3 separate regions of the Homo sapiens genome follow, and regions 2 and 3 are each linked to region 1. The links are contacts of gene promoters, found by promoter capture Hi-C in blood cells and fetal thymus (Javierre and others, 2016). All regions are on one chromosome and are shown on one strand. Each heading gives the region's core, a stretch centred on a gene start or on the middle of the fragment in contact. The rest is flanking DNA. Distances are from core to core; before and after follow the strand shown. Region 1 holds the start of CDCA8 (cell division cycle associated 8). Region 2 overlaps ZSCAN20 (zinc finger and SCAN domain containing 20). Region 3 holds the start of YBX1 (Y-box binding protein 1).

The links. Contacts are between HindIII fragments. The CHiCAGO score rates a contact against its expected background, and 5 or more counts as called.
Region 2: a fragment that was not itself captured here is called in contact with the fragment with the promoter of CDCA8 in region 1 in 1 of 17 cell types (non-activated CD4 T cells); the score reaches 5.4 in non-activated CD4 T cells.
Region 3: a contact is called between the fragment with the promoter of YBX1 here and the fragment with the promoter of CDCA8 in region 1, in 1 of 17 cell types (non-activated CD4 T cells). The highest score is 6.4, in non-activated CD4 T cells.

Annotation. Positions count from the first base shown.
Region 1 is chr1:37,691,100-37,693,799 of GRCh38, reverse strand. It overlaps CDCA8 (cell division cycle associated 8), which reads right to left and starts at 1,284. Exons shown (of 10, transcript NM_001256875.2): 1 at 1,016-1,284; 2 at 767-895. The coding sequence starts at 1,109. It also overlaps a transcript of AIRIM not described here. RefSeq lists enhancers at 503-1,011, 1,012-1,522, 1,561-1,750, 1,523-2,032, 2,033-2,543 and silencers at 1,981-2,150, 2,171-2,230. The HindIII fragment of the contact is 4,527 bases long and covers 1-2,700 here.
Region 2 is chr1:33,474,949-33,477,648 of GRCh38, reverse strand. All of the region lies in intron 1 of ZSCAN20 (zinc finger and SCAN domain containing 20), which reads right to left. Among named protein-coding and RNA genes, the nearest start is that of ZSCAN20, 3.7 kb to the right of the region's middle. The HindIII fragment of the contact is 4,752 bases long and covers 1-2,700 here.
Region 3 is chr1:42,681,134-42,683,833 of GRCh38, reverse strand. YBX1 (Y-box binding protein 1) reads right to left here and starts at 1,416. Exons shown (of 8, transcript NM_004559.5): 1 at 1,103-1,416; 2 at 368-431. The coding sequence starts at 1,268. It also overlaps a transcript of PPIH not described here. RefSeq lists silencers at 511-660, 771-880, 1,071-1,270 and an enhancer at 1,711-1,760. The HindIII fragment of the contact is 3,657 bases long and covers 1-2,700 here.

The sequences.
Region 1 (2,700 bases), core at 35-2,534:
GGTTATTCTTCTATCTGAGCTCTGGTTAACTAACCATGTCATTTATTCATTCATTTTTAAATGGGTAAAATATACATATATTTTTAAAAATACTATTTTCTGGCCGGGCGCAGTGGCTGACTCCTGTAATCCCAGCACTTTGGGAGGCCTATGTAGGTGGATCACTTGAGGTCAGGAGTTCGAGACCAGCCTGGCCAACATGGTGAAACCCCGTCTCTACTGAAAATACAAAAATCAGCGGGGCATGGTGGCAGGCGACCGTAATCCCAGCCACTCCAGAGGCTGAGGCAGGAGAATCACTTGAACCCAGAAGGTGGAGGTTGCAGTGAGCAGGGATCGCACCACTGCACTGCACTGCACTCCAGCCTGGGTGACAGAGTGAGACTCTGTTTAAAAAAAATTAAATAAATTTCCTGATGTGTGAAAATTATGTGAAATTCACATTTCAGTGTATCCATAACTAAAATTTTATTGGAATACAGCCCATCCATGCCCATTCACTACAGCTGTTTTGGACCTGTAAACAGCAGAGCTGAGTTGTCCGACAGAGACCGCCCCGCCCGCCGCCCCCCAACCACCCCCCCATTTTTCATAGAGAAAAATGAAGTAGGGAAGTGAGACAGAGAGTGAAAGGGTCTGCAATTTTCCATAAGTGGTCATGTCAGATCTCATTAAAAGGTGACATCTGAGCGAGCCCTTTCTGAAGGGTGTCACCTAACCCCAAGGGGCTCCTGGCCTCCGCCCAGGGAAGCTCTCCAGCTCTTACCGAAGTAGTCAAGCCAGTTCATCTCGCGCAGAGCCTTGGGGAGCCGCAGGATCTCGATGTTGTAGAGGTTATCCACCTCCTTGAGGAGGTTCTGCCTGTCTGACTCAATTTGCTTGATTCGTATTTCCACTGCGGGAGGGCAGAGCCGACAGGACACGGGTCACGGGCGGGCGAATCTGTGCAGCTCGTGTCCCCACCCGCCAGCATCCCGCGACCGCCCCAGGAGGCCGCGACGGCCTGGCCCCTTACCTTCACGGTCGAAGTCTTTCAGAAAGGAGGCGAGCTTCCGCCTCCGTAAGGAGTTGGTCTTGGCCACCCGACTACTGCCCTTCCTAGGAGCCATGGCGCTCGGCGGAGGCTGCGGGGAGCGGCGGAGATGGGGCAGGGAAGCAAGAAACTGGGTAGGGACGAGGAGGGCGGACGGGGACCACCCGAAGAAGTCGCCAGGCACGTACCTGCGGTCCCGAGACAAGGGCTGAGCAAAACCTCGCTGTGCCAGTGAGAGAGAGCGGCTCTACAGTCAACCGCCACCCAATTCAAACTCCACAGTCACAGGCTGACGAATGAGAAGCCGCCGTCCCACAACATCCAATCACAAGCAAGTTCCTGCCGGCCCAGGGTCTTCCGCCCAATGCGCCCCCTATAGCCTGAGTGCGACAGCGAGGCCGCCGCCGTCGCGGGTACTCCTGGGAGTTGTGGTCCAGGCTTGTTTCCCCGCCCTCCCCACCAACCCACCCGGCTCCGCCCTGGCCGGCTGCGAACTATACAAACTACTACTCCCGGCAGGCCTTGTGGCGGCTCTGCAATACCCCAAGCTCTGGAGGGCTGGGGGCCTACTAGGTCAGGTCGGCTGTAGGATTCTGCTCCAGGGTTGGCGGCTGCTTCTTTCTGGCCTGGCTGCCACTGAGTAGCCGAGGGGCCGCCGTGACCCTCTGACTGATTGACTGGCTGGCTGCCTACGTCGGCGCTCCTCAGGGCCCCAAGCTCCTCAGGCCGAACTTCGGGCAAGTGGCGGGTCGGCAGAGACAGAGCAGCCCCGGCAGGGTTTGACAGAGCAAGGGGGACGGAATGATAGAGGAGCAGGGCAGGGGTGCAGGCTTTGGGGGGGGCGCGCTATCCCGCGGCCAGTCTGGGCAGCGAGTGGGGGGAACCCTGTCGTTCCTCGCTCCCCCGCGGGCCGGCCACTCCCGCCCAGTTCGCGTGTTGGCGCCTCGACTGGGTGCGCAGCGCGGGGCTGCGACTTCAGGTGCAAGTAGTGGCGCTTGGCAGCTGGCCACACGGTGACTGCAGCATGAGCCGCGGCCACCAGGCTCCAGGGAGCCCAGGGCAGGAGGCAGCTCTGGGTGTCGTGGCCGTGGGCCTGGGAATGGGCGTGTAGACGGCGAGCCCCGCCGAGCCGCGGTCCTGTCGGAGGTGCTAACTGTGCATCTTGGTATCTGCCCACGGCCACAGGGTTGGATTGCTCAAGAGTTGTGCTGAGACCCAGAAGGCTAGAGGCTAGTTTCGAAGCTGTAGCTCAGGCTGAGTCTCAAGGCGGGCGGCGACTGGACGGCCAGACCGGCGAGCTCTTGACGGGTTTGTGGCCTGATTGTTTGGATTTGGTGCTTTTCACCTGTGGATGCGGTCTGAAGCCATGTCAGAGGGGTTGTGTTTAAGCGTGCATGTTATAGGCTATGGGAGTGATAATCTTGCCTCTCCCCCTCTGAGTTGAGGAACAATCGAAGAAATAAGCAAAGGTGCCAAGCAGGCTCCTGATGGGCACCAGCGAGCTTGGGGACAGAGCAGTCCAAGCATAGAAGTCCTGGCAAGCCTGGACCTTCCTGGAAAGTCCTTTCTCTCTCTTCCACCCTGGTCTGTTGCTCCATATGCAACAAATATTTGAATGTCGCTCTTCCGCCCGAGGTCAGCCCTGGGCAGTGGGTAGTGGGGGTGAC
Region 2 (2,700 bases), core at 80-2,579, 4.2 Mb after region 1:
AATGACCTTCGCGCTCATGCCAAAAGGAATTCCTTTCTCTTTTATTTCCATGTCTCTGTGACACTTACCACTTTCTACACTGTATGAGACATTGTATGAGAAGGATGTGCGTATCTATGTGTGTCCCAGAGGAGATTACAGCCTCTCTGATGGCACCCATGCTGGGTTATTTGAAAAAATGAGCTCTCTGTGTCATCCCAACAAGTCTGGGTGACATAAAAAATGCCCACTCAAAGGAGATCATTAGCTGCTTCCAAGTGGGAATGACACAACTGAATTGAGAATGGAGAGATGGTGGTATTTTTCATTTTGGGCAATCTGACTGGACTGAAGAGAAACAAGACAAGGGTAATAAAAATTAAAGTCTTGCCCTAAAGGCCTCCATATGCTTAGGAAGAGGCTTAAAGCACAACTCATGGCTACCTGGCAGCTTCCTACTCATCCTTCAACCACCAGCTCAAATGTCACCTCCTTTGATAGGAGTTCCTTGACATGCCCTTTTCATGTCCTGCCCTCCAAGAATTGCCTCCCTGATCCTATATCACCAAAGCAATTGGTACATACCTCTAATATAGGTATTATCCTACACTATTGTAGTTACCTGTTACTATATCTGACACCCACATTATACTATATTACTAGAATCAGTATTGTATGTTACTAATTTCTGTATCCACAGTGCTCAACCCAGTATCTGATAAATAGCAGGGCCATTAAAAAGTTTTATTACCATGTATTAAAATGATAAACCTGGCGTATCAAAAGCCTAATGGGATACAGATATTCCATAATTTATATTAAACTAAACTATTTCTGTCTACCTACATTACTGCTATAAGCACTCAGAGAGATCACATATGTAGAAAGATTTTGCCTTTCATGAAATTTCTTTTTGAACCTAAAGAATTCGCCTTTCATGAAATTTCTTTTTGAACCACAACCTTATTGATGCATGAGTTCAAACACATTTCTGTCACCCTCTCACACAAGGAGCAATTCATCAATCATTTATAGAGTACCAGCTATACCCTGTTTGGAAGCTACAGATCTACCAGTAGCTGGGACTGACAGTCCCTACCTTCAATAAAATTACAGTCTAGTGAGACAGACAGTCAATAAGCAAGCAAAGACATTTGCGTTCCTGCACAAACAGGACACTACAACAAAATAGGCAATTAGCAGTCACACCAGGCCCAAAGCTCAGAGTCTCAGATAATAGGTATTTTCTCCTGGAAAGACTTGAAAGTCCCAAAGGTTTGTTTCAAATAGAAATCGGAAAGCCCCAGGGACCACATATCACCATAACCTTTTTTTTCTAAGGAACCATAACCGTAACTTTCTAAGGAAGTTAGACCGAAGTATGGATAGCAGGCTATTGTGGGGAGAGGGAGGCCAACAGAGTCGGCCAACAGCCGGGTGACTTCACACAGAAGTGAACAAGGGAAAATGGACCGGGGCATTCCTCAGTTCCGAGATGACCAGGAATATCGAGCCTCATTAGGACCAGCAATTTCTAAGAGTACCCCTTTACTGAGTGCCCACAAGGTGCCAGGCACAGTGCTGTGTTCCACATTCATAATCTCACTGAAGCCTCCAGGCAGCAACTGGAGTCTCATTAGGTGTTGAGCTGCATTTCACTGATCTGTAACTTCCACTGCAAAGATCAGAAAGAGAGAAAGAGGGCCGGGCGCGGTGGCTCACGCCTGTAATCCCAGCACTTTGGGAGGCCGAGGCAGGGAGATCACAAGGTCAGGAGTTCGAGACCAGCCTGGCCAACATGGTGAAACCCTGTCTCTACTAAAAATACAAAAAAAAAAAAAAAATAGCCAAGCGTGGTGGCTCGTACCTGTAATCCCAGCTACTCGGGAGGCTGAGGCAGGAGAATTGCTTAAACCCAGGAGGCGGAGGTTGCAGTGAGCTGAGATCGTGCCACTGCACTCCAGCCTGGGCAACAGAGCACGACTCTGTCTCAGAAAAAGAAGAAAAAAAAAAGAAAGAGAGAAAGAGCATGATTTAAATAGTGCAGCCAGTTGCGTTCACTATCTGTTCGAGAATAAGCATGTGGTGGTGGCACCTAGGACTTCGCTATTCACCAGGTTGGTCTTGATTCCCTCGTGCCTCTCTTTCCACTAAGTGTGAGTAAAGTGTCTTTCATACCGCACAGTCCCTAATACAAGCGAATTCTCATCTAATGTTCAAACAAGAAAGCCCAGCTGTGCTGATTAGTTTATTTATTGAAAGGCAGCGTGTTAGTTTCTGAAACGGCTCCTTGCCAAAGGATTTTCAAACTAACTGTGATTTTTGGCTAAAGTGATTTTCACCCTTAGAATATTATTATCTGATAAGGTATGACTGCACTATATCCTCAATTACCTAAAGGGAAACTGAGTGTTTATGAAGATTCACTTAAGGTTACACAACTAGCAAGTGGTAGAGTTAGGGTCTAAGCCGAGATCCCTTTTCTCCAATCATTTTTCTTAACCATGTCTTATAGCCTCCTCTATGTGTGCTAGTCATCCAAACTCTTAAGATGACAGTACGGGAGAATGGAAAGAACATTAAGGCAGGAGTGAGCAGACTGGGGTTCTAGTTCCACTCCTGCCACTAATCAGCTGTGTTACTTTGGACAAGTTATGTAGCCCCTGTGGCTGCCTAGCTAGGCTGCAGCTTACAGCCTGATCTTACTCAGCAGTTGCCCTA
Region 3 (2,700 bases), core at 167-2,666, 5.0 Mb before region 1:
AAATACCGAGTTCAATAAAGTAGAAAAAGATGACAAGGATAAAAATGTACTGGACCGTAGTTTCCCGTTTACCCTGTTAAGGAATGGCTCATTCACTCCGCTTGCCTTTTGAATTGCTTTGTACTGTGACGAAGCCTTTTAAGTTAGCTTCAAATTAATATTTAGCTGCAAAACAAAGGCATTCTCTAGATCCACTAATCCCTAATCAAGGAAAACAACAACAACAAAAAATCATACTAATACACCAGAGGTAGTAAACGCCTTTCAGAACAGAGCTGTGGATTGGGGCTTCCCAAGCCCCGAGAAGCCGACAGAGCAGGAAGCAAGCAAGAAGGTGGGATGGAGGCTTCAGAGCCCGGCAGCTCACCTGTTGATGAAACCATATCCGTTCCTTACATTGAACCATTTTACTGTTCCCAAAACCTTCGTTGCTGGAAAAGAAAACAAAGCAAAACAAGCCACGATTACCAGCTATCCTTTTCCAAATCCGCCCGGCTTGGGCATCCGGTCCCTCGCACGCCGGCCGCCGCGGCCACCTGACAGCCCTTTCTCTCCACCGCCCGGGTGCGGGGCCACGCAGTCGCCGCCGCCGCCGCACACGTGGGTGAGTCTGAAGCGCGGGGCGCTCCAGGGCAGGCCCGGGGCGCGGGCCCCAGGATGGGTGTGTGCGCAGGCCGCGGACGGAGAGCACGTGAGGGAAGGGGAAGCCGCTCCGGCCTGCGTAGGCGGTGCGCCGCGCCCTCCGAGCACACGCGGAAGGGAGCTGGGTGGGGGTGACGCGAACAACGGCGTGCGGGCCCGAGCGCACGAGGCCGGTCGGCGGGGAGGGGACCCCGTCGCACACGCGGTCGGCGGCGCGCGGCCGCAGGGGGAGGGGCGCGCGGCCGCGCGGGGTCCACAGGGGGCGCGGGAGGCAGTGCGCGCGCGCCTGCCGGGCGGGTCCCCGCGAGAGGGAGTGAGGGGGGGACGGGGGGGATGGGCGGCCGCGCGCCGCGGAGTCGGTGCCCACCGGCCGCGCGCCCGCCGGCTCGCCCAGCTCCGGCTAACGGTTCCGCTGCTGGGCTGCCCGAGGGCCCCACCCCCGTCCCTGTCCGGTCCTCACCGATGACCTTCTTGTCCCCGCCGGCAGGCGCCGCCGATGTGAGGCCGCCCGGGCCACCGCTCCCTGCGCCGCTGCCCGTAGTGCCGGGCTTGGTGTCGGCGGCGCTGAGGGCGGGGGCGGCGGGGGGGGCGGCGGGCGGCTGCTGGGTCTCGGCCTCGCTGCTCATGGTTGCGGTGATGGTGACTGGGGCCGGCTGCGGCAGCTGCGGCTCCTCCCGGGGTGTGATGGTAACTAGGCCGGCGGCGGCGGTGGGGCTGCTCAGGGCTCTCTGGGGTCCGCTCTCCGCTCCCGCTACCGATCGAACTAGCGAGAATGGCGGGACAGGCGGGATAAGCCCTACGAGCGACCCGCCCTAGGCGTTGTTCACTGGCCAGTGGTACTGTCAATCTGCCCACCTGACCCCAATCCCTAGCTTCTATTGGCTAATATTTTATCAGTCCTCCATTCTCATTGGACCTTTGGCGGCTAATTCAGTCGACCTACAACCGTTCCTGCCTCCGCCGGCCGCCATAGAGACCGGAACTAGAATTAGAGTAGTCGGCCACGAAAACCATAGAGTACCCGAGAGGACGGGCAGAAGGAACGTGACTTCCACGAGGCAGCCGCCGGGCTGGCGGGCCCCACGTTCAGGGTTGTGTCTCGGCTGAAAAAAAGGCACGCCCGAACGCTGGGCAGGGATTACCCGGCCGGACCCGGGATTGGAAGGGGGCTCGAAGACGCCTTAGCCCCCCGTGAAGAAAAGGCTTCCCTCCCTCCCAGCTCCAAATACGGTCCCTGTGATCTGAGAACATTACGGCGGGCATAGAGTCGTCTTTTCTTTAATGGCCGTGTAGTCGCGGCACAGCCGAGGGTTTCTGGAATTGCCTTAAACGTATGCGTTTGAAGAGCGTACCCTTTTGTCGGAGCAGTCACCTTGGAGGGACCACGCAGGCTATGGCAGCCCGGGTTCAGCATGTTTAGGGCGAGGGTGTGCTCCATGGGGACCTGCCTTCTGATCCGTTTTACCAGGCATATATTTAAAAAAATGTGTCTTCCTTTCCAAGTATTCACATCTTTTTCTACTGACCACAAATCAGATTTAATTCAACTCACATTTATTGAACAAGCTAGCCTGTTTTGTTTTTTCACTTTATTCCTGCAACAGCCACGTGATAGAGGGATTACTATCCACGTTTCACAAACGATAAAATTGAGGCTGCCACCTGATGTTACTGAAGTCCTCCACCCACCTTCTTTCGTTCTTTTTTAAGCGTCTACTATCGGCTGGGGATGGAATAGTTCGCGAGTCAGTTTCTGCCTTCTGATGGAGGCAGAAATTTAAACAGCCAACACGGTAAATACTCCAGAGCTGCAAAACCACGAAGTATTTTGGGAGTGGAAGCAGGGAGAAGGTGGAGGGCTGACTTTCCGCGCACAGGGTACAGGCGAGAAGAGGTGAGATCTCGGGAAATGCAGTCAAGTAGTTCAGTAAGACTCGAATGTGACATTGGGTTGCAGAGGTGGGCAGTCACTTAGGTATATTTAATTGGAAATATATCCTGAGGGGAAGAGTGAGAAGAGCAATTTTAGAGTCATAAGTAGGGAGGGGCATCTTTTTA